7 separate regions of the Homo sapiens genome follow, and all the other regions are linked to region 1. The links are contacts of gene promoters, found by promoter capture Hi-C in blood cells and fetal thymus (Javierre and others, 2016). All regions are on one chromosome and are shown on one strand. Each heading gives the region's core, a stretch centred on a gene start or on the middle of the fragment in contact. The rest is flanking DNA. Distances are from core to core; before and after follow the strand shown.

What was found. Contacts are between HindIII fragments. The CHiCAGO score rates a contact against its expected background, and 5 or more counts as called.
Region 2: a fragment that was not itself captured here is called in contact with the fragment with the promoter of ST6GALNAC3 in region 1 in 1 of 17 cell types (monocytes); the score reaches 7.6 in monocytes.
Region 3: a contact is called between a fragment that was not itself captured here and the fragment with the promoter of ST6GALNAC3 in region 1, in 1 of 17 cell types (naive CD4 T cells). The highest score is 5.5, in naive CD4 T cells.
Region 4: a contact is called between the fragment with the promoter of AK5 here and the fragment with the promoter of ST6GALNAC3 in region 1, in 2 of 17 cell types (M1 macrophages and M0 macrophages). The highest score is 5.9, in M1 macrophages.
Region 5: a contact is called between a fragment that was not itself captured here and the fragment with the promoter of ST6GALNAC3 in region 1, in 3 of 17 cell types (monocytes, fetal thymus and total B cells). The highest score is 8.7, in monocytes.
Region 6: a fragment that was not itself captured here is called in contact with the fragment with the promoter of ST6GALNAC3 in region 1 in 3 of 17 cell types (M0 macrophages, M1 macrophages and M2 macrophages); the score reaches 8.9 in M0 macrophages.
Region 7: the fragment with the promoter of MIGA1 here is called in contact with the fragment with the promoter of ST6GALNAC3 in region 1 in 4 of 17 cell types (non-activated CD4 T cells, naive CD4 T cells, total B cells and 1 more); the score reaches 10.1 in non-activated CD4 T cells.

Annotation. Positions count from the first base shown.
Region 1 is chr1:76,073,001-76,076,386 of GRCh38, forward strand. ST6GALNAC3 (ST6 N-acetylgalactosaminide alpha-2,6-sialyltransferase 3) reads left to right here and starts at 1,746. Exons shown (of 5, transcript NM_152996.4): 1 at 1,746-1,884. The coding sequence starts at 1,867. RefSeq lists a silencer at 1,547-1,746. The HindIII fragment of the contact is 5,160 bases long and covers 1,120-3,386 here.
Region 2 is chr1:77,824,076-77,827,397 of GRCh38, forward strand. All of the region lies in intron 7 of MIGA1 (mitoguardin 1), which reads left to right. Among named protein-coding and RNA genes, the nearest start is that of MIGA1, 46 kb to the left of the region's middle. The HindIII fragment of the contact is 4,876 bases long and covers 1-3,322 here.
Region 3 is chr1:77,538,609-77,542,317 of GRCh38, forward strand. The region is part of intron 13 of AK5 (adenylate kinase 5); the gene reads left to right. Among named protein-coding and RNA genes, the nearest start is that of ZZZ3, 140 kb to the right of the region's middle. The HindIII fragment of the contact is 5,942 bases long and covers 1-3,709 here.
Region 4 is chr1:77,280,467-77,284,104 of GRCh38, forward strand. AK5 (adenylate kinase 5) reads left to right here and starts at 1,553. Exons shown (of 14, transcript NM_174858.3): 1 at 1,553-1,907. The coding sequence starts at 1,848. RefSeq lists a silencer at 1,413-1,472. The HindIII fragment of the contact is 11,909 bases long and covers 1-3,638 here.
Region 5 is chr1:77,760,284-77,763,802 of GRCh38, forward strand. No RefSeq gene overlaps it. Among named protein-coding and RNA genes, the nearest start is that of USP33, 2.2 kb to the left of the region's middle. The HindIII fragment of the contact is 2,006 bases long and covers 327-2,332 here.
Region 6 is chr1:77,416,118-77,419,524 of GRCh38, forward strand. AK5 (adenylate kinase 5) reads left to right here. Exons shown (of 14, transcript NM_174858.3): 8 at 1,522-1,598. Among named protein-coding and RNA genes, the nearest start is that of AK5, 140 kb to the left of the region's middle. The HindIII fragment of the contact is 4,885 bases long and covers 1-3,407 here.
Region 7 is chr1:77,778,010-77,781,792 of GRCh38, forward strand. MIGA1 (mitoguardin 1) reads left to right here and starts at 1,640. Exons shown (of 16, transcript NM_001416120.1): 1 at 1,640-1,727. It also overlaps the pseudogene RNA5SP21. RefSeq lists an enhancer at 1,527-1,616. The HindIII fragment of the contact is 6,952 bases long and covers 1-3,783 here.

The DNA of each region.
Region 1 (3,386 bases), core at 496-2,995:
CTTTGCTCTGCTGTTCTGCCAGGGACATGCAGGAGACGGAGGCCTTCCTCTTAACCGCAAGAGGCCTTCCTTTTTTACTAATATTCCTCAGCACAGACCCTTTACGGGTGTCGGGCTGGGGGACGGTCAGGTGTTTCTCTTTCTCCTTCCTGAGATCTTTGCTTCCAATTTGGCTAAGGCCCTTTCCATGTTATAGTATCATGTATCTCTTATTCTTGTCTTTCTCACTTAACTGTGAGCCCACCTTGATGTTAGATATTCTGAAAGTCATTCTCCTATCCCTGAAAGGTCTTCAATAAAGATTTTTCCTCCACTTAGTGGAAGGTGAATAAAGTTTATTCTTCCATTTAGTAGTGGCTCAATAAAAAAGTTTGTGGAATCAATCAAGGGATGAGTAAATGAATGAAATACTGAATTTTCCTGGCCTATGAAGGACCATGAGCTAAAGCAGCGGTTTAAAGTATATAGTCCCAAACAAAGAATTCTTACTAAAAACACACCGGATCTGTAAGGCAGAGGAGGGAGGGGCGGGAGGAAGAAGTCGAAGAGCAGGGTGTGGTATTCCAGGGAGACTGAAGACAGGAGCTTCCCATGGGACAGGCAGTTCATCCACAGGCTCAGCTTCTGCAACCTCCTTCCTGTGGTTACTCCTGCTCTCTAAGAATTCTGCATGTTCTCATCAAGAAAATACCAAATTCCTTGAAAGCCTGGATTCTGCCTTGTGGTTTGTGAGCCAATCTCATGACACCACCAGCCCACAGTGCTTTTCCTGATTCCATGGAGGCAAACTAGACGGAGCTTCTAGCAAGTGAAACTTCTTTTGGGTAGATATTTGGGGGCCGCTTTTAAAATTTTTCTGACAGACCAAGTGGTAAAAATCTGTGTGTGTACACGGAATGCTCTCTCCCTTCTGCAATGCGTTTACTCTCCTTGTAGAAATAACTGCTTCTCTTAGCCGGCTCTTGCTTGGAGCAGGGAAGAGCAAAGTCCTATCATGTACACATACACAGTTTATAAACATATACTGTACAATCAACATGTACATATATAATACAATATACACATGTGTGCATCCTGTATCTGTATACTGTATATCATGCATATACAATTTCATAAACAAGCTTGTACCAGGAAAAGGCAATAATTTATATATTATACACACATACATGTATATGTAAAATATGTACACACACACAAAATATACCATACAGAGTGTAAGGTTCATGACGTCTTTCTTTCGTTGATATTTGTGCTCACTTATTAGCGGTAAATTATTAATTTTAGATAAGCCCATCACAGAGTGAAGGCTCAATCCTTGAACAGCCCAGGGAGAACTTCGTTGCTACTTTTGAAAAGCCCTTTGATGTGCCCAAAGTCTCCAGAAGGGCGATGCCAAACCCACTCAACTTTGACAAAGTGTGAAACGTCTGTAAAAAGGAGTTCTCTGATGTGTGAGAGGAGACGGAACCGAGAAGAAAAGGCCGTACTCTGCCCCCCGCGGGACCCAGGTCCCCGCCTGCTGCAGAGCGCACTCTGCGCACGTCGAGCCGCGAAAGGTTCACAGAAGAAAACAAGAGAAAGAAGTAGCAGGCACTGAGGAGCCGCCGGCGCCGGCGCCCAGGACGGCACGTGACCCGGGGGCGGGGCCGCGCGGGCCGCGGGCCAGTGGATGGGGACGGGGGCGGGGCCGCGGCTCGGGGGGCGGGGTCTGTGGCGGCGCAGCTTACACCGCGGTCCCCTTATTTGGATCTGCGGGAATGTGGGCTGGAGAGGTCCTGCCGTGGTACCAGCCTCCAGCCTGCCCCCAGGACTGCCCCTGACCCAGGCGCGCCCGCTGCTCGGTGGCAGGAGGGCCGGCGGAGCGCCATGGCCTGCATCCTGAAGGTAACGACTTGGATCTGTGGCTCGGACGCGTGGTTGGCCAGCCCCTTGCTGCTCAGAGGCACGGAGTCAGCCGCGGTCCCACCGCATCCTCATCTCAGTTGTCTTTTCCTGGCATTGATTTTCTTTTTGTTCCTTTGGCAAATGCATATGGAGGGAGATTCTGAAACATGCAGCTGGCACAGCTTCTTTTCCCACCATTCCTGCCTCCTGCTCGCGCCTGCATTGAAGGAGCTGCAGACTGTTGGCTCCAGGGGAGAGCAGGGCTGTGTGCCGAATAATGGGGATGGTAGGGAGAGGAGGGGTGTTCCCGCGGGTCCCGCGGCTCTGTGGAGCCTGAGGCCTTTCAGGGGCCACGGGGAGGGGTGGAGTGGCTAGGCGTGAGTTGCTGGTGGTGAGGGGCATAGCGCTTTAAATGGAGGGAAGAGTGAGCGGAGGTGGGCTCTACTGTGCATTTGATCATGTGAAGACAGAAACTTCTGAGTTTACAGGTAGTCCCTTAGGAATGAGTTTTCTATGAGATCTGCTAGCTCTGTTTGCCCTTAGCTCTACTTTGGAAAAGTTCACACGAGGATGTATATGTTAGTAGAGAACCTCTCACTCTCTTTATGCTCATAAATTTGAATAGACAAAATGATTTTATGCTCTGCCAGAGTGCGCTCAGCCATCCCTTCTTTGTTGAGTTTTCTTTCTCCAAGACCGGATTCTTAGCCTCACCTGAGCATCTTTCTGGGTTCACAGACTTGTGGCCTCAGGTGGGAGAACTTGGTGTGAGGGCCTCACTTAAAAAGAACTTTCCATCCCACTGGTAGAGGCCTCCCCTGCCCTCGTTTTTTTTTTTGCACTACCTTTCTACAAGAACATAACCTGGATGCATGAATCAAAAACATGAACAGCATGAAAGTTTCCTGGGCCTTGACTGGAGAATGCAGAGACCTAGTTGTCCAAGCCTGGGGGAACTGTGTGACGATGGAAAATACCAGGAAACAATTCGTTGTTGTTGTGTTATTGTGAAGTAGCATTTATTTCTCTATAAGATGATATTAAGTCATCTACTGTGTTCTGGTTACCTGAATCGTCTTCTAACGTGCCTGGTGTCAATGATGAAAATAAGAGACTAACCTCGTAGAAGTTGTTTCCCCTTCTTTGCGTAAAGGAGATCAGAAGTTTCCTGTGAGCTTTCTGAACTTCCTCTTTTTGTTTCAGAACATTTTCCAGGACATGAGGAAATAATACATCAGTATTACAGTATGGGGTATTTGACCGGGAGGCTCTTAGCACAAGGACTGAAATATGAATATGAGTCATCTTTACTATTCATTGTGTTATTTGCTGAAAGGGACATTGAGGAGCATGATATTTATTGCTGGCCATCTTTTTCTGTTTTGGTTTCTCCCCTGCCTTGTCCTATACATGTGGTAAACATCTTTAATGCACATCCCAAACTACACATGAATCTGGTCCAATCTTTCTCTTCTAGCACTTCACACTGCTTTCAGACATTT
Region 2 (3,322 bases), core at 591-3,090, 1.8 Mb after region 1:
AGAAGATCTGACATTTCTGTTAATTTAGCAGCAAACATGCTGGAAATATTAGAACTAATGCTGAGAAAATAAAAGAGCAGTATTAAAATAGGAGGACTTTTATTTTTAAAATGAAAAACTTCTGACAACCTGGCTCTAAAATTGCAAACATTCAAATGCATTCCTAAGCTGTGCTGTCATCTGTGTTAAAATAGAAAACAGGCTGGGTGTGGTAGCTCATGCCTGTCTGTAATCCCAGCACTTGGGAGGCTGAGGCAGGAGGGTTGCTTGAGACCAGGAGTTCAAGACCCAGTCTGGACAACATAGCGAGATCCCCGTCTCTATAAAAAAATTTAAGCCAGGAATGGTGGTGTGTGCATGTAGTTCTAGCTAGTCAGGAGGCTGAGGCAGGAGAATCCCTTGAGCCTAGGCATTCGAGGCTTCAGTGAGTTACGATTGGGCCATTGTACTTCAGCCTGAGAAACAGTGAGACTCAGTCTCTAAAAATAATTAAAATAGGAAATATTTTTGATATTTTGGAAGGAGGTGATACTGATACAAAATGGTTTACTAGTAATATTTTGTGTTTTAAAAGCATAAACACAGATTTTATTATAATTATTGTGGTTTAAAAGTATGCCTGCAAAAAGAAATATAGCACAGTAGTTGTATTTCAAGCCATCTTTACAATGTTTCCTATGATAAGAAAATAGCTTTGCATTAGGCAGGGTTTGAATTATGTTTTAAGGAATGAATTCCACCCATAAAATATAACCCACTCCATATTCTATAATTTATTGTTTGCCATGTTCCATGCTGCATTTCCTTAACCATCCTGAATTAATGAGTCATTATTGCATGCATTTCTAAGTGCTAGTGCACCAAGAGTTTAATACAGGCTTAAACAATAGTTATTTGTTCTATTCCTCTTTTTTTTTTTTTTTTTTTTTTTGAGATAGGGCCTTGCTCTGATGCCCAGCCTGGAGTGCAGTGGCATGATCTTGGCTCACTGCAACCTCCGCCTCCAGGGTTCAAGTGATTCTCTTGCCTCAGCCTCCCAAGTAGCTGAGACTGCAGGTGCGCTGGGGACTACAGTCGTGCCCCACCACACCTGGCTAATTTCTGTATTTTTAGTTGAGGCGGAGTTTCACCATGTTGGCAGGCTGGTCTCGAACTTCTGGCCTCAAGTGATCTGCCCGCCTCAGCCTCCCAAAGTGCTGAGATTACAGCATGAGCCACGATGCCTGGCCCTGTTCTGTTTCTCTTATAGGAATATAGGAGTTGTGCAATCACAAACAAATGAAATGAAGATTTGAGTTAGTTCTCTAAAAATGAAAACGTTTTCCTTATTCACTTATAAGACCGTTTAGTGCTGAATGTGAGATGTTGAAATCACTAGAGGGCAGCACGTTTTATCTACATGTTGGATGCCTGTGACTCAGGTGCCATTCTGTGTTGCTACTTGTAGCACTGGGAGTTAAATATAAGTCAACACTTGCTGGCAGGCTTTGTATGCACCTGGTACTGTAACTCAGAATGAGAAAGAACGTGGAAGTTATGCAGAGAAGACATGAAATAACATTACTGTAAATTTCCATTATTGTGCAAGTTCTTCTAGCTAAAAGTATCTGGAAGTGTTATGTTTATGTTTATTTGTAGCTTCTATTTTCAGAGATTGTTAAATTATAATTGATAAACTTTTTTTTTGTAACTTCTGAAGGCTTAACGAAAACCTCCAATATGATTTCAATTATACATAGTATAACTTAGTAATTAAGAATATGGGCTTTGGAGTCAAACAAGCATGGGTTCAAATCCTGGCTCTACCCCTCTTGCTAGCCGAGACATTAAGCAAGCCTTGACTTTGCTTAGACTCAGCTTTTTCATCTGTAATGTGTAGGAGTATATTAGGATCAACTTCATAAAACTGTGAGGATTAAGTGAGATTACATAACATATTTAGCATAGGCACATGGTAAACACTTATCTATTCATTATTATAATTATAGTCTAGCAGTTTAAAGAGGCCTGTTCTAAGCTGGTTTAAAAATTTCATAGTTATAGATAGGAGGATGTCACATGTTCATAAGTTGTTTTACAATGATATTGTTAGTCAATTCTGCAGACAACATTCTTTTTTTCTGGGAATTAATTTGATTTTTCTCATAGTAATATAAATTTGTATTTAATGAAACAAGGTAAGCCATGTTTAAACTTATTTTTTGGTAAAGTAAAAAAAGGTGCTTTTTATAAATCTACCTTTTTCCGGGTTAGAAATTATCTGAAGGGTTTGAAAAAATAATTATTCTAGATGTAGCTAAGATTACTGATTTTCCCTCATCTCTGACCTTGTCATGCGTAGGAGGAAAATAAAAAATGATAATGGATATACTGCCTCTTGCTGGCATATCCTATTATTATTAATTATTATTATTATTTGAGACAGGGTCTTGCTCTGTTGCTTGGGCTAGAATTCAATGGTGCGATCATGGCTCACCACAGCCTCAACTTCCTGGGTCCAAGTGATTCTCCCATTTCAGCTTCCTGAGTACCTGGGACTACAGGCGTGAACTACCATGACTAGCTAATTTTTTAATTTTTTGTAGAGACAGGATCTCACTATGTTGCCAGGCTGGTCTCGAGCTCCTGGGCTCAGGCAGTCCTTCTTCCTTGGCATCCCAAAGTGCTGGGATTACAGACATGAGCCACCATGCCAGGTCTGGATTCTGAATAAATTAAGAACACAAAAAGAGCCTTTTTTTTTTTCTGAGATGGAGTCTTGTTCTGTTGCCCAGGCTGGAGTGCAGTGGCACATTCTTGGCTCACTGCAACCTCTGCCTCCTGGGTTCAAGTGATTCTCCTGCCTCAGCCTCCCGAGTAACTGGGATTAAAAGCGCCCGCCAGCACGCCCAGCTAATTTTTTTGTATATTTAGCTGAAATGGGATTTCACCATGTTGGCCAGGCTGGTCTCAAGCTCCTGACCTCAGGTGATCCACTCAGCTGGGCCTCCCAAAGTGCTGGAATTACAGGCATGAGCCACTGCACCTGGCCAAAAAGAGCCTTTTTTTTTTGAGATGGTGTTTTGCTCTGTGGCCCAGCTGGAGTGCAGTGGCACGATCTCCGCTCACTGCCTCCTGAGTTCAAGTGATTCTCCTGTCTTAGCCTCCCGACTACCACGCCTGACCTAAACTTTTTTTCTTAATAGCCAGATTGGACAATGTGTTAAGGATTTTTACAACTTCTTCCTTTCCCCTCAAAAAAATTCTCTGGAAGCTGGGTGTGTTGACTCACGCCTGTAGTCTCAGCTACTTGGGAGGCTGAGTGGGGAGGGTTGCTTGAGTC
Region 3 (3,709 bases), core at 182-2,681, 1.5 Mb after region 1:
CACTGCACTCCAGCCTGGGTGACAGAGAGTCCCTGTCTCAAAAAATAAAAAAAAAAATTAAAAAAAAGAAAGGTATTTCTTCCACTTTTAAGATTTGTAAAGGTGGGAAAATTCCTAAGTAATTCAGGATTTAACCACTTTTAGAGTTGGAAAATCCCTCTTAGCTCTCTGTTGTATTATTCCAACCTGAATTCTACAAACTCACAAATGACTGCTCGTGAGTACAGGGTTGAGTTCTCAGACAAATCTGATTTCTGGAATCTTCCTTAGAGCTTTCTAAGTTAGTGGTGTCCAAAAGACCAGATTACAACACATTTAAAGATCTTCATTGGCTTTTATTCATGATTCTAGAATTGGGCAGACCTCAGGACCAGAAAAATGTTTGAAGAATAAGCCACATGGTCAAGCAATATTTATGTTTAGAAAACAGAAGTGAGGAACTGAGGTTAATTAGTTACAGCCTTATGTGAATCAGCTGGCTACCTACTATTGACTTAAGCTCAGCTGCTGGAACTACCAAAACTCAGCCATCTGTTACAGTGTGTACATCCAAGTTGTTTGTTTCATTTAGCACGGATGACTCCACGTTGGTTCGGCCTGTTGGGCCCAGAACGGGAGCCTAGTCCAAACCAATGGCCTCCTACAAATTTTATTTAATGGTGGAAAAGAGGTTTGCAGTCCCCTGGCTCATCTCTTCAACTTCCCCTGCATTTTGGAGATGCTGGCTGCTGGGTGCGTGGTGAGGTAACATTATGATCCACTGCACAAATATGTAAAACCTCTCCAGCCCGGACTGCAGAGCAGCGTGAGCTTCAGCCTTCAGGACTCCCAGAGAGTCTCAGGGAGGCTGCTTCATCCCACTGCCCCTGCCCAGGGCCATCCCCTACCCACACAGCTGCAAAGATGAACAGTCCTCCCTACACACCTAGCATAGAAACAGTGTGTGCTGGGCCCAGGAAGCTGAGATTTGTCTGCAGGTACCCGTGGGGTTTGCCAGTAGCTAGGGTGACAAGAGCGGGGACTGCAGGAGAAGCAGGGGAGGGGACAGGATTGTTTGCCGCTGGAGAGGGAGAAAGCCACTGGCCCACTCTGTTGTCTGGCCTCTGGGTTTTTGCCCAGTCCTCCTGCATCAGCTTAATCTCCCTTGGTTCCTAAGTAACAGCTTGTGGCCTGCTCCTGTGATGCTGTTTGGATTGTTTGCCCCTCCTCCCTGTTGTTTTACTGGACCCAAGACAGGGCTGCTCACCCAAGAGGACCTCTGGGTCACTTAAGGAGCTTTCTTAAAACTAGGTGGGGCTGGTGAATGCACTTCAAGAAAGCAAGTGAGATGAATCAGCAGTTCTGTGAGATTTATTTAGGAATTAAAGCCACAGGGGGGGCCAACCCATGCAGCCCACAAATAGGCCACAAGCACCGCCCTCAGGCCTCTACCCAGCAATGCTGACATTGAACCCATCATCTGACACCCTCCATCCCCCACTCCATGACAAGTCAGCCCTTTGGCCACCAGCTAGCTAAGGAAAGTGCAGCAAAATTTCAAACAAAGATAATTTTTAAAGCAAAGCAGAATTTATACAGCCACTCCCTTATTCTTTATGTCATCATAATGCCATCCTTGTACAATAAAGTTAGAACTTCTTGTAACGTGCACACCAGAGATGGAAGTACATGTGATACAGGTGTATCCCTTTCTGCCTGTTTTTCTCCCTCTCATAAAGCAGAGGTTTGCCCTGCATCTGAGAAAGAATTAGAACAGAACTTTCCTCCATTTCATTCCCCACCTCACTACACTTGGGCCAGGCAGCGTTCGCCAGTCATGGCACTTCCTACCAAGTCTGAATGCTGTCTCAGAAACTTGCTCAACACAGCCGTATGGACCATCACCCCCAACTGACTAGAATTAGCCTACAAGAAGAAGTTTTCTTTCACCTTAGTGAGATAATTTATTATGGCCATAAGTAACTGAAATGTAGCATTTGGGGATGAAAAGCACAGTTACCAGCCAAAGACTCCCTGGGGGATGGCGGGGGGAATATGGGCCTGTGCATCAGAAAGCCCCAGGCACACTTTCATCAACTTCGGTGAGTCATTTTACTGCTTCACCTCTCAGTTCTTCTTCCTAAAGTGGATAGAACACGATCTACTAGAATTGACCAAGTCTATTATTATAAAAGTAACACATACTTGCTTTATAAAATATAGAAAACTGGTCAGGTGTGGTGGCACATGTCTATAATCACAGCAGTTTGGGAAGCCAAGGAGAGTGTGGGTCACTGGAGCTTAGGAGTTTTTTTTTGTTTGTTTCTTTTTTTTTTAGAGATGGAGTCTCGCTCTGTCACCCAGGCTGGAATGCAATGGCGCAATCTTGGCTCACTGCAACCTCCACCTCCTGGGTTCAAGCCATTCTTCTGCCTCAGCCTCATGAGTAGCTGGGATTACAGGCACCCACCACCACACCCAGCTAATGTTTTGTATTTTTATTAGAGATGGGGTTTCTCTTATGTTGGCCAGGCTGGTCTCGAACTCCTGACCTTGTGATCTGCCTGCCTTGGCCTCCCAAGGTGCTGGGATTACAGGCGTGAGCTACCACGCCCAGCCAGGAGCCTAGGAGTTCTTGACTATCTTGGGCAACATGGCAAAACCCATCTCTACAAAAAATACAAAAGTTAGCCAGGCGTGGTGGAACACATCTGTGGTCACAGCCACTCAGGGGACTAAGGTGGGAGGATTATTTGAGCCCAGGAGGTTGAGGCTGCAGTGAACCAAGATAGTGCCACTGCACTCAACTGGCGAGATCCTGTTTCCAAAAAAAGAAAAAAGAAACAAAGAAAATGTAGAAAACTAGGTAGTCCCACCACTCAGAGGCAAACATTGTGGGGCGTTTTCACCACATCTTTTTGCTGTGAATTTTAAAAACATGATTGTGATTGTAGGTAATACTGAGCCAGACTCTGTGGTTGTAGGTAGCAGGTGCCAACTCCCGCTGGCCTAACCTGAAACACAGAACTTCATTATAAGGTTAGAAGACTCAAGGCTGAGGCACAGCAGGCCCTAGAAGGCGTGTGGGATCAGGCCTAAAAGGCTCACAGTGCTCCCTACTGCTTCACAAACACCGTTTCCTTCTCTCTAAGCTGGGTTTTTTTTCTTTCTCTGGCTTATAAGCCAGAATATGCCCACCTGACAGCTTTCGCATTTGCACATTACCACGGCACTCTGATTCCCAGCTCCAGATTCCTGAGAGAAATGATGTGGTTGGCCTTGCTTTGCTCAGGGTCTCCTTGGCTCTCTTAGCTGTGGACAGGCAGCTGGGGTCACAGGGGGCTTTTTTATTTTTTTCTGTACTTTATTGAGTGCATATGGTATGTGTGGGACACGACACTTGGTGCTGGGGACACAGCAGTCAACGTGACAAAGCCCCTCACTGAAAAGAGAAAAACAGGCCAGGCACGGTGGCTCACACCTGTAATCCCAGCCCTTTGGGAGGCCAAAGCAGGCAGATCACAAGGTCGGCAGTTCGAGACCAGCCTGGCCAACATGGCAAATGTCTCTACTAAAAATATAAAAATTCGCTAGACGTGGTGGTGCGCATATGTAATCCCAGCTACTGAGGAGGCTGAGGCACGAGAATTACTTGAACCTGGGAGGCGGAGGTTGCGGTAAGCCAAGATCACACCACTGCACTCTGGCCTGGATGACAAAACGAGACTCG
Region 4 (3,638 bases), core at 303-2,802, 1.2 Mb after region 1:
TTCCTGCGTGTTCACCTCCACTGTGCCTGCTCACAAAGGAAGCCTTAATGCCACGGACCATTGTACTTTTCAAGCATCATTGCATAGGGAAGAGACACTGCCTTCACTACTGCCATAGCCAATCTTAAATAAGCTAAAGAAATACTAGAAGTTGGGACTGTAAGTGAAATGGCATATTCTAAGGGCAAAAACCAATTTCCATGGAACTGAAATACCTGCCTCGTTTAAGGCAACCATATGACACACGGGTTCACAAGTGCTAAAAGTTCATTTACTCCCTCAGGTAAAACAAAGCTGCAGCTGTAGTTAAGGCTTGAGCTGCAGTTGTTTCCGGAACAAGAAATAGAACCAAGAAAAGATCTGCAAAGAAGCACTTGAAATGGACATTCAGACTCTATAGTTTTTTAAAGCAGTGGCAGCGTTGCTTCTTTCTCCAGCCAGACCCCAGATACCAGTGCCTACCAAAGTGTCCTCTCTCACACACCCTCCTACAGTGTTAGGCTTTGTGGGAAGTTAGAGATCATATTCTCCGGGGGCAAGGACTATCTCCCAAATAGGCAATGTGAAGACATCTTAGCAGGGAATTGAGTCATCTTGGGAGCTAGGAGGAAGATGGGTTACACCTTAACAATGGTCTGCAGCAGGAAGATCCATTAACCATTATGCCTTAGCGCACCCACTCATACTCACTCATATTCCCCCAGGGGTGCTCTGATACGACACTGTCCACGGACTGCACACTCTTCAGGTCTAATTAATGATGCCCACCCTCCCCACCTACTAAACACATTTGCAATTTAAGCATCTCTAGCTCTCCACTACCACCCACCTTTCTCCTCCACTGTCCCTTCTTCTCCATGGAGATAATTAACTAGTTGACTACTTATTAGTCCTTCAGTTGATTAGGATTTCAGGCTCACACTAAGGCCTTATCCTAAAGTCTATAAAGATTTGTGACACCGACAGGGTAAAAATTCGAAACCAGCTAGCAAAACTTTCCTGAAGGATAGAGATACTCAAGATCTAAAAATTATCTGAAGGGTTGGATTCCACACCATGAATCCCCTTTTCCCCCTTCCCCACAGCTCCCTATAGTGAAAGATCCGTAACCTTAGGAATAAATGATAAATCCTGTGACTATTAGGTTTTTCCTGGGAGTTCCTCGGAGACCCGGAGGTAACCGTGTATGTGCGTGCGAGTGTGTCTGTGTGCGTACAAGGTCCGGAGAAGCGAAACGGTCGCAGGTTCCTACAGACCCCGACCCTGTTCCCTTGGCCACCTGGTCCCCGGTAGCTGCATCCCTGGGCGGCGCACGCAGTGAAGCGTCGCGCTCTGGCGCCGGTGCCGCACCGAGGGGTATGACTACGACCCCTTGCGCGTGCCCGCCCCCACCTCCGCACCTCGCGCCAGCCCGCGCAGCGTGACCGGCAGCCGCCGCAGACCCGGCTCGGGGAGGCGCGGAGCGCGGCGCGCTGAACCGGAGAGGCGGGCCGGCTGCTGCCTTGCGTTCGCCACGCTGTCCTCCCTCCTCCGCTCCCTGCGCCCCACCCCTGGCGGCCGCGCTGCCTGGCAGCCCGGGAAGCCGCGGCACAGCTGCTCGGCGCCTGCAGCTCCGGCTCGGGGGCTGGAACCGAAGCGGGGGCGGCGGGAGCGCGGAGACCACAGCCCCCGGGGAGAGGCGGAGGGGGTCCCTGGCCTGGGCGGAGAGGCTGAGCTGAGTGCGCGTGAGAAAGAGGGCTGCACCGCTGCTCGGCGCGGACTCTGCCAGCCCCAGCTTCAGCCCCGGCTCAGGTCGCCGCAGCCCGGGAGCCTCCCCGCTTGCGCCCCAAGGCACGCGCGGCACAGCCATGAACACCAACGATGCCAAGGAGTATCTGGCCCGGAGGGAAATCCCTCAGCTTTTTGAGGTAGGGCTAGAGCTGGCCGACGGGCGGTAGCATCCGGGGACTGCATCTCAGGGGTTCGGGTTGAGGCAGCCGCGCCCCGTCCCACCTTCCCCACACGGGGCATGTAATGAAGGGGCTTGTAGAAGCGCACTCGCCCGCTCCCCCGAGGGTAGTCGCCTTTCCCGCGGGTTGCCAGGGTCCTTGTCAGAAGGCTGGGCTTAGAAGCCTGCATCTCACAGATCAAGTTTCAGTCTTCCAGCAGGGTTCTGAAAGCAGCCTGCTCCCATCGCGCCCCTCGGATGTGGACACCCAGGGTGGGCTGCAGACCGCGGCCGGGCCGCACTCTCTGGGGGCGAGGGCCAGGTCAGGTGGCTGCACTGTCGCCCAGCAGCGAGTAAAGACTCGAAACTGAGGGAGCCAGAGCCCTAGTCACTCTGCTGGTCGAGGGTCGGAACCCCTGGGGGAAAGAGGAAATGTGGACGAAGGCAGCCCTTCCTGGAGACAGCTTGGAAGAGAGGGATGAAGATGCAAAAAGCAAAACCCAACCTATCAAGTGCCACCTCCCCGGTGACAGGCCCCCAGCCTTGCTCTGCGCTTTCGCTGAATGAACTCCTGAGCACGTTTTTCCCGTTGCCTAGGAAGGGTTGGGCCGCAGGTTTCGCCAGTGCTCGACAACCCACCTGGAGATAGCGGGTCGGGGAGGGAGCTGCGAGGGGGGCGGACTCCTGTTGCTCAGTCTTCAGACCGCAGCACAGCATCATCTGCACCGGGACCCGGGAATGGGGGGACACTTGGAGACTGAGAGAGAGGAGGCTCGAGGAATGAACCTTGGTCTGTTCTAAGCCACAACCCCTGTCTCAGGTCGTTTGGCTTCCTTTCCTTCTCTTTGTATTTGAATTTAAAAACATTCCTGAATCTCAAGTGCTTTTGCTTGAAGTAGGGGGGAGGAGGAGAAAAGAATAGAAGCAAGCCAGGCTTCCTAAGCGAGCTCTGAAAGGAGAAATCCATTCACTGCAAACCTCGTTCCCCATTTCTGAAAACGGATAGACTGATATCGTAAACTAAAGGTCATGAGGGTTTTTCCCCCCGGTTTGGGGGATTTGTTCTGTTAAAAGGAATTTTAAAGCACCACTTGAGAAAATAATTTTGCCTCAGTTTCCCTAAACTATCTTTAAAATGGGTTGCCATAATTACAGGTCTTCTTTTCTCTCACCTCTATAAGCCACCGTTTTCAGGTCATCTGAAGTCAAGATTTCCAGGTAAACCACTCACTGAACTCAAGCGTGGTATGTGAAGCCCAAATCTAGCAAATGTGTTACTCCTGCGTGAAAATAATTAGGTGGTGTTGCATAAGGACAGGTCTTGAGAATATGTGGGAATCTTAAGAGTTGTTTTTTTTGTTTGTTTTTATTTTCAAAAAGTAAATATGGAAATTAAGAGGCGAAGGTTTTTCTCACAAAGATTACTACTGAGATATATTTCATTTCTACGCTTCTAAAAGAATCATTAAAAACATCTGTAGGAGGACCACGTGATTGCAAAAATTCCTACATAGTACATCTTTTTTTCTTTGTAAATGTGGGTACTGTTTTTCCTCCTTGGTGGAAGGTAACCACAGAGAAGTTTGATAGTTTATTAAAATCTACACTGTGCATGCAAATAAGTTATGGCAGGCCTTTTTGTTAAGGTTTTATGTTTCTTATTTACTTTTCTGCATATGAATGGGATAAATAATGCACACCCAGAAAAGGA
Region 5 (3,519 bases), core at 80-2,579, 1.7 Mb after region 1:
CACCTATGCAAAGAAGAAATTTATCTCACCATTTTCTCCTTAGGCTAAAATCAAGAGGATCAAATCAAATATTTATTGAAACCTTAGTATCTGCTTAATGCCTGGAGCATGGAAGGAGTCCTGCCTTCTAATTATGTAACTGTTAAAATGCACTCGATTGAGGTTCAAATCTATGAATAAAAAAGGTTATATTAATAAAAAATTGTTAAAATTGCCAGTTTCAATCTGTCTCATGACATCTGACTTTTTGGTCTCCAAAATGGGAGCATGTACCAAAGTATCATGCAAGATGCTCAGTCTCCATTGGAATAGGTAGAAAATATAAAAGCTTCTACTTATTTTTATGGTAAAAATGAAATAAATTAACCATGATACAAAATTCTAGGTAGGGATTGACACTCAGGCCTCAATTTGCACCACAAATGATTGCCTATCCTCGGTTCACTGAGGAGAATAGAAATTTCACAGAATAGAAGTTTCACAGGCAGGCGCCATGGTTCATGCCTGTAATCCCAGCACTTTGGGAGGCCGAGGCGGGTGAATCACTTGAGTTCGAGACTAGCCTGGGCAACATGGCGAAACCCCATTTCTACTAAAAATACAAAAATTCGCCAGGCATGGTGACAGGCACCTGTAGTCCCAGCTACTCAAGAGGCTAAGAGTGGAGGATCACTTGAGACCAGGAGTTTGAGGTTGCAGTGAGCCATGATTGTGCCACTGCACTTCAGCCTGGGTGACAAAGTGAGATATTCTCTGGGAAAAAAAAAAAAAGATGCCGTTAGGAGATGAAAAGTTGTCTCCAGCCGGGCACAGAGCCTCACACCTGTAATCCCAGCATTTTGGGAGGCCAAGGCGGGTGGATTACCTGAGGTCAGGAGTTCAAGACCAGCCTGACCAACATGGTGAAACCCCCATCTCTACGAAAAATACAAAAATTAGCCAGGTGTGGTGGCGCGTGCCTGTAATCCCAGCCACTCAGGAGGCTGAGGCAGGAGAATTACTTGAACCCAGGAGGCAGAGGTTGCAGTGAGCCAAGATAGAGCCACTGAACTCCAGCCTGGGCAACAGAGGAGGACCCTGTCTCAAAAAAAAAAAAAAAAAAAAAAAAAGCTGTCCACAGAGGAGATCTACAGAAGAAAAAAAAAGAAGAGAGACAGAGAGAGAAGAAAAGTTAGGCCAGCAAATAGAATTTATTTGAAATACATATAATTGAAAAGGGGCTCAACTCCATATGTATTTCCAGAAATCAATTTTTAAAAAAACAGGCGACCAAATAGAAAAATAGACAAAAGTCACTTCCCCAGAAATTCTTCTATTGAAAATGTATCAGGGGTATTCTGTTCTTACAGTGTCCTAGCAAATTCAATTCAGCCTCCAAGTCCCACCACCATCCTGCTTAGTAACCAAGGTTCTCTCTGGGCTTACCTGTCCTGGAGGAGTTCTAGGGCAGTGTCAATGCAAGGAAGACAACTGACAAGGCTGTTCAAGATCACCAGGTGCGGTGGCTCATGCCTGTAATCCCAGCACTTTGGGAGGCCCAGCAGGGCAGATCACCTGAGATCGGGAGTTTGAGACTAGTGCGTAGATAATAGTAGGCAAGTACTTCTCAGGTGGACACCAAGTGAAGTCCTTGCAGTGGACAAGTTCTCACAAAACAAACTCACTCTGATAGAATATAATGTAATACCTCTCCCACTTTTAACTTCCGTGAATTCCTGCCTCCCACCCTTGGGTGTTTATCCTTTCATCCCACAGTCCAGATTGCTTATCTTTTACTTTTCTTCAAACAATATCTCCTGATGGCTTATAATGGCTTATAAGGAAGAACACTATCATTAGGAAATAAATCAATCAACTTCCCCTTGAGAGAATAGATTATACATTCCAAAGTGTGGACACCCAGCTGAGTCACTGATTCTGGAGTAGAATTCTAGAGGGTGTGTGGACACCCAGCTGAGTCATACTGATTCTGGAACAGAATTCTAGAGGTGCCGTTCATGGAGAATATAATGTAAATAGTATGACTTAGAGTTGTGCATCAGGCCAGGTACTGAAGTCTCTTCTAATGAAAGGGAGAAAAAAGAAGAAATGAAGAGTAGGAAGAAAAAGAAGAAAAGAAGTCTCTTCTAATGAAAGGGAGAAAAAAGAAGAAATGAAGAGTAGGAAGAAAAAGAAGAAAAGAAGGAGAGATACAAACAGGGAGGGAGGAAGACAATTGAATGGTCCTATCAAAAACAAATACCTTCTCATTTTTGTAACTGAGTAATGGCAAGTAAAAAATAGCAACGTAGAAAATATACATTTTGGTGCTTATGTACCTGAGACTAAATAAAGCTTTGTAAATGCTGTTTCCTTAGAGACAATTTTACAGATACTCCCAACCTCTATCCTTCCTTCACCTGGCTAACTCCTACCTAGATATTCTCTGTTTAATACAGAACTCTTTACCCCATTATTTCCGGTTTCAGCATCCTGCTTGCTTCCTTTAGAGAATGTATTATAATTTGTAATTATCTTAAATTTTTTGGTATACTTAATTTTTTGCCTGTCTCTCCTGAACTCCTCAATGGGAGCAGTGAGTATTTATCTTATTCACAATATTCCCAGAGCCTAGCATTGAAGGACTCAAAAACTTGTTGGCACTCAACTGGGGGTGGTTTTGTCCCCTGAGTGGATAGTTGGCAATATTTCTGAAGAGGATTGGTGGGAGAAAGAATTAGTAACATTCCTTTGCATTGATATTACAAGAGAGTCCCAGACATCATTAATGCCACTATTGAGAAACTCTGATTTAAGCTGGGGCTTTAAAATATGTCTTTGGGCCGGGCCCAGTGGCTCACGTCTGTAATCCCAGCACTTTGGAAGGCCGAGTTGGGCGGATCACCTGAGATCAGGAGTTCGAGACCAGCCTGGCCAACATGATGAAACTCCATCTCTATCAAAAATACAAAAATTAGCTGGGTGTGGTGCAGGTACCTATAATCCCAGCTACTCGGGAGGCTGAGGCAGGAGAATCGCTTGAACCCGGGCGGCGGAGGTTGCAGTGAGCTGAGATGGCACCACTGCATTCCAGCCTGGGCAACAAGAGCAAAACTCTGTCTCAAAGTAAAATAAAATATGTTTCTGGGCAGGGCGCAGTAGCTCATGCCTGTAATCCCAACACTTTGGAAAGCTGCGGCTGCTTGAGACCAGAGTTCAAGACCAGCCTGGGCAACATGGCGAAACCCTGTCTCTACAAAAAATTGCAACAATTAGCCGGGCATGGTGGATCATGCCTGTAGTCCCAGCTACTATGGAGGGTGAGGTGAGAGAATCACTTGAGCCCAGGAAATTAAGACTGTCATGAGCCATGACTGTGCCACCCCTCTCCAGCCTGGGCAATAGGAGTGAGACCCTGTCTCTCAAAAAACAAAAACAAGAACAAAAAAAAAAGAAAGAAAGAAAAGAAAAATATATTTTAAAACAAATCTTAGGCAAAGCATTTTTGCTTTTCCGCTCACTGTCACATAATTAAAAAGT
Region 6 (3,407 bases), core at 236-2,735, 1.3 Mb after region 1:
GACGGCTGAGTATTTTGGCCCCAAAATACACCTTACAAAATTATTTATTTGAAAAAAATACCAAAAGTACAAAGGTAGAAAAATTATGTATAATCCCACTAATGTTAAAATACATATGTAAATTAAAGTTTCCCACCTCTACCTTCTAATCTCTGTTAATAGTATGGTGGGTAGTCTTGCCAACTCCATTCTAGCAGCCATCTTATGAACAGTGGTCTGGCAAGGGCTGTGCTGACAGCATGACTAGCATCACCCAGGGTTGTTCTGAACACACTTATGCAACTGCAACTCTTCATGGCAACGCTATGATTACTTTTCCAAAATGGTTTGATGGTTTAGTATGTCCATTTTGAAAAACTTTATCATCCTGTAAAAAATGTAAAGATATAAACACAGTAAACACTGGCATTACTGCTTAGAACTTAATCAATTTGGTAATGGCTATTACTTTGTCAAGTTGGTAGACAGCAGGGACAATGATAAGAGAAGAGAAGGGGGAAAAAAGAGAAGAGATGAGAGAAGACTGTGTAAGGACATACCCCGACTCATTTGGAAAGAAAATATGAAAGCAACATCGGGGACAGGTCTATATCTGAGAAGTGTATGAGATGCTTAACATTTTTTACAAATTTATATTCATTATGCATTACTCATTGGATATTCTGACTAAGAATGATTTGCCAAGGCCAAGTTTACAGTGAAACAATGTTTTTTCACAGGATATATAATATTTTATGGGCAGCACTGAATTCAGTCTTTCTGGGTAGTTAGATGATATATATTTCCTAGCAGGAAAGAGTTATTAAATGAGAATGATGAATCAGTTGTGCTTCAGAAGTCCCATTGTAAAAATTACCAGTTTAAGTCTGAGCCTTGGGGATTAATGGGTAACTGATTTAATGAAACCTGTAGTACCTAAGGGAAATAATCTCTCTATTCATACATTAAGTTAACCCGATTTTTCTTACCTTCAGCAACTAAGGTGACCCGAAGGCTTGAGGAAAAACTCGAGTTTTCAGGGAGTACGCAAACTTAGCCCTTCCTGTTTCTGGAAACCCCTTACTCTCCTCCCACTCTGTACTTTGCTCATGGTGTTCCTTCTACTTCCATTATTGTTGCAAATCCTGAAACTGCTCCCCCTCCTGGACAACCTGTATTCACCCTCAAAATTCAGGATCATAGATTAGTACCTCATGAAGAATCTTAACTCCACCATCACCTCTACTACTAATCAGAATTAGTAGCTCACTCTCTTGGGTTGCTGAACCTTTAATAATAACTCTTGTTGACAAATTATTCTTCCTCACAGTATTTTCTTCTTCTTAAGGATGCAGACAGTGTCCAGAGTCTCTGCATTTTGAATCTCCAGCAAAACATTGTACCTGGCAGATGAGAACAGTCTAGAAATGTTTGTGAATTTAATGTGATATAGGAAAATATGGAAACCTAGTGAGAGACTGTTTGCTTTAGAAACATACATAGACAACCTCCATCCACTTATCTTTTCTTTCCTAATCTTAGGTTCAAGTGACCTTGATCCTTCGATGATATTGGACACTGGAGAGATCATTGATACAGGATCTGATTATGAAGATCAGGTAATTAAAATCTGAAAATAGTTCTCTATTTAAATGTTTTTAAGTTGAACCTTTGTAAATGTTTTATGAAAATTTGAATTATAAAAACTCATTTTGTGAAATATATACAGATAACTAATAACATATTACATGATAAATTACAGTAGTCTACAGTTTTCATTCACTAAGTTTGGCTTTTTGGCACTCCCTTGTCCTAAGATTCAAAACACAGTGAATTAAAGAAAGGTTTATCATCAAACGTTAACATGGGATAGAAATGAGGTTCTCTTGCCCAAGAATTTGCCTGTGTCTCTATCCCTTCCCACTAATAAACTAATAATATTTACTGAGCATCAGCTACAGGTTCAGGGCTCTGCTATTTTATCGCTAACTGTATTAGTCCATTTTCAAGCTGCTGATAAAGACATACCCAAGACTGGGCAATTTATAAAAGAAAGAGGTTTAATGGAGAACTCACAGTTTCACATGACTGGGGAGACCTCACAATCATGGCAGAAGACAAGGAGGAGCAAGTCACATCTTACATGGATGGCAGCAGGCAAAGGGAGAACTTGTCCAGGGAAACTCCTGATTTTAAAACCATCGGATCTTGTGAGACCCATTCACTATCACAACAGCACAGAAAAGACCCGCCCCTGTGATTCAGTCATCTCCCACTGGCTCCCTCTCACAACATGTGGGAATTATGGGAGCTACAAGATGAGATTTGGGTGGGGACACAGAGCCAAACCATATCACTAGTCTGTGGAAGGGAATGATGAACGAGGAAAGCATAGCCAAGAAGTTAAATACATTTTCTCTTTGAATAAAACTGAAGACATTTATCTGGGTCATTTTCCTCTCAGCAGAAGAACTCTCTCTGCTGCTATATTTTAATGAACCAAAATAGTTGGCAAATGAGCCAACCCCCTAATTAGGCTTTATTTTTAAAAAAGAAAAATGTCCAAAACTTTCTTCCGCCTCTCATCAGTGCTCCTCAGCAATGGCTAAAAGCCAAGTGAACATGTTCTTGGGGGAGGCTTTGTTCCCATCTTTAACTAATATTCATCACAAATAAAGCAAACAGATCAGACCAGTGTCCATGTGTAATGGCTGGCTGTATATTTCATATACGTATTCAGGAGCTATTTTCTTGAGTATAAAGTTCTTTCCTTATAGCACAAAGCAAGGAGATGATGTTGGCAAGTGCTATAATAGCTACACATGTTTATAGTAATTTTTAACATCTATTAAGCACTTATTACATGCAAAACGTTGTGCCGAGTTTCTTATATTAACTCAGCAATTCTTCACAACATCTCTAGGAAGTAAGAATTATTATCTCTATATCACAGACAAAAAAAAAAAGGACTAGAAGAGTAATTTACCCAAGGTTACATAAATAGTTTCACAATAAGGATGTGAACTTAGGGCACATTCTCTAGCATACCCAAGACTGGGCAATTTACAAAAGAAAGAGGTTGTGCTGCCTCTGCCACAATGTACTGCCTCCCATCCTAACCTCCAAAGACAGGTCATTCAATGATATGTATTGGGAGCCTTTTCAGTTGCTGACCCATAAGACTCCAGCAGAGGCTAATGCAAAACAACCACTTACAATCTAAAATTACAGACTGCACAAAGAAATGATTCACAACAAGGAAGCCAGCTAGTTAAAGAAATGGAAGACTCCACACCCCCCAAGAACTAGAAAGAACAGAAAAATCTGAAAGAAATCATAATATAAGGATATTCAAAATATTGAAAGGGAAGATTAGAAGCCATGAAACAAATACATGAACAAATGGAAAAGAAGAAAGAAAAAGGGAA
Region 7 (3,783 bases), core at 390-2,889, 1.7 Mb after region 1:
GGCTTACAGCAAATTACATTTGGTTTATAAACATAAATTAAATGTGATATTTCTATTTTATATATTTTATTATTATTTTGTAGAAATGAGGGTCTTGCTATTGCCCAGGCTAATCTCGAACTTCTTACCTCAAGGGATCCTCCCTCATCGGCCCCACAAAGTGTTGGGATTACAGATGTGAGCCACCTCACTTGGCCTAAATGTGACATATCTTATTCTCATGCTAAAGAATAAACTCTGTACCCACCGTGTAATACTATTTTTCTCATAATGTTTATTGTGGAATTAAGGAGATAATATGGTCTCAGGAAAGTTGTGTTGAGTGGTAGTCATCATCATTACTGCTATTCTCATTACGTTGAATGTTTGGAAGCTGTGGGAAATGGGAAAGAGGAGGAAATTGGGAAAATAAATGAAAATAGCCTTACAAATTTCAGGTTCTTCAAGTCTCAAGAGCTCCATTTACCCTATAAGTGCAAAATATTTTCACATAAAACCCAGTCTGTGGATCGTTAGTTATTATTAATCTAATAATATCATAAATTGGTACTACTATTCTATTTTCCATTTGGTTAAATGGGAATTTTGAAAACAGAATTATTTTGGCTTTTCACCACAAATATGCTCAGCAACTGGAATTCTTAAATCTGCAGTTTTTTTGTTTTGTTTTGTTTTGTTTTGTTTTTTGTTTTGAGACAGAGTCTCACTCTAGTCACCCAGGTTGGGGTGCAGTAGCACTATCTGGGCTCACACAACCTCCGCCTCCCGGGTTCAAGCGATTTTCCTGCCTCAGCCTCCCGAGTAGCTGGGATTACAGGCAGGTGCCTGGCTAATTTTTGTACTTTTAGTAGAGATGGGGTTTCGCCATGTTGGCCAGGCTGGTCTTGAACTCCTGACCTCAAGTGATCTGCCCGCCTTGGCCCGCCAAAGTGCTGGGATTACAGGCTTCAGCCACCGTGCCCCGCCTAAATCTGCAGTTCTGATGGAATGTTTTGACTGAAGACTGAACGTAGAAACAGTACCTTGGGTTTTGTTGTTGTTATTTTTTCCTAACCCGGCCCCCTATTAGTTTACTATGTATTAGAACCTGAGAGAGGTGACTACTCTGCCAATAAATTGCCACATTCAATATTCTTCGGTTGCCTAATTCAGTGGGAAACACAGAAAAAAAGGTAAAGAGGACATGAAATCAATAATAAATGCATCATCTATACCGGATTGGAATGCCTCTTAACACTCATTCATCTGAGGGCTGAGGGCCTGTGGTAGAAGTTCTTAATCTTGTTTTCAGGGTTTTGAAATTGTGTAACTTTTTTTTCTTTAATGTAATGAGCATGTGTATACACATTTTTTTTTTTCCAGGGGAAACCCTCCATAATTTTTACCAGATTGACAACCGTTCTAGATCCCCCGACAGGTTACGAACTACAATACTAGTTTTTTTTTTTTTTTTTTACCGGTTTGTAAAAGGATGCAATTCTTCGAATATAGTTTTTGCATCCACTTGACGAGGAAGGAGCCTCTACCCTAAACAAAAATGGCGGGAGCTGCTTCACACGTAGTCCCTCACGCAGAAAGCCTGGAAGGCCCCCTCCACTTTCTCTCCACCTTCGCACTCCTGACCCCGGAAGGACTCCGCCTTCTCCATGTCAGACTGCTGCTCAGCGCCAGGCATCAGCTGGGAAGCTGGCGTGGGCAGGCCAGCTGTACCTGGCCTGGAGCTCCAGGTACAGGGCCAGGGGCGGGGTGGGGTGGAGAGGCGGGCGGGAGGAAGCGGAGAGTTGAGCGGCCACGCAGTTGGGGCAGAGGCCTCGGGGCAGGGGTGGCGCGGACTCCATCGCTGGCGTTAGCTCTCGGAGTGCCAGGTGGAGCGGCGGAAAGCCAGAGGGTCTACGGCCGTGCCACCCTGAACACCCCCGACCTCGTCTCATCTCAGAAGCTAAGCAGGGTCGGGCCTGGTTAGTACTTGCATAGGAAAGCAGGAGGGTCCCCACGCCAGAGGGAGGCCTGCAAAGGAAGCGCGGAATTGGGATGGGCTCGCCACTGCTCTGAGCCAGAGGAAGGGTCTGGACGGCCGAGCTGGAGGGACCCCCTTTTCTGGTGTTCTTGGCAAAGAAAAAGGAAGACAGCAGAGGAGAGCTCCGCGAGGGGCTGCTGTGGGGTCGGGGGAGAGCGCGCTGGAGGTAGGGCAGCTGGTGAGGTCTCAGGTTCGGCTTGGATGCGGGTGGTTTTGAGCAGGGAGTGGCTTTTGGATGTGAAAGATTACTCTGCTTTGCAGGTGCTTTAAGAGAATAATTTAGCACGGGAGTATTGTGGTGTCAGGTCCTTCTGTAAAGTTGTTAAATTATCTATTTTCCAGAGGGAAGACTCAGCTTGTTTTTGCACAGGACTTTGAAACCTTTATTATTGTTGTTTTATTGTTGTTGTTATTGCAGCTAAACATGTTTGCTCTGTTCAAAGTGTCAGAGTTAGGTTATATAGATTTGTGCTTCACGTCAATTTTCTTTTTGATACTTCAGACTTTCCTTCCTGTTGGATTATAAAGTCAAAGTTGCAGGATAGAATTTTAAGATGTCTAAGAAACTGTTTATGACACTTATTTTTAATTCCCCAGTAGTTGGAATGTAGAGGAGCAAGTAATATCACACAGGACAATATTTTTGGTTATGTTTTATAGATTCCGTCTATAAATTTGAATAATCATGAAACCCCCTTCATGTTTATTTTTATTATGCTTCTGAAAGCAAATGAAATGACTAGTTTTTTGTTTTTTTTTCTTTAGTTTTTCAATGAATAATGATTAGGTTTGGAATCAACTTCCTCAGTAATATTAAATGAAAAAGAATGAGGTAGTTAGAATGCAAAAATAGAGGTTTGTCATAATATTTTTTCTTTTTTCTTTTTTTTTTTTTTTTGAGGCGGAGTCTGGCTCTGTCGCCCAGGCTGGAGTGCAATGGCGTGATCTCTGCTCACTGCAACCTCCGCCCCTAGGGTTCTAGAAGTTCTCCTACCTCAGCCTTCCGAGTAGCTGGGATTACAGGCGCCCGACATCACTCCTGGCTAATTTTTTTGTATTTGTAGTAGAGATGGGGTTTCGCTATATTGGCCAGGCTGGTCTTGAACTCTTGACCTCAACTGATCCACCCACCTCGGCCTCCCAAAATGCTGGGATTACAGGCGTGAGCCACCACGCCTGGCCGAGGTTTGTCATAATCTTTTAAGAATATCTCTGCAGCCAATTAAAGTGTTTGCTTTATTTTCTTTCTATTCTGCTTAAAAATTTGGAATGCTCCATTATAGGGAAAATTACTTTGGGTGAATTACTCAATACGTTTTTTAAATGCAGTAGCATAGATTGCTTAATGATCCAGAATCTAATTAGTAAAAATGTTTCTCAAAATAAAATGTGTTAATATTTAGGGAGGGGGAAGAATAAATGAGCTTCCCCCCACTTCCTTTTTACTGTAGTAATATTAAAAAAGTAATACATGTAGGCAGGTTTTTAAAAATCAAGTATTACAAACAGACTTATAAGGAAAAGCAGTCATTCTTTGCCCAGCTTTTCTATATCCCTTGTCTTATTCTCCAGAGGACCATTTTTCACTTTCTTAACTGTTCATGGTTTCCTCTGTACTTTTTAATCATATGTCTCTATCACAGGTTGTTGACTGAAATAAATGTATGTCAAGTAGAACTAACTATACTGAATCTAAAAGTTGTACTTAGAACACTGGTAGGGGGGATTAAGTTTATACTGCTGTATCCCTAGTAAGGATTAAGGGA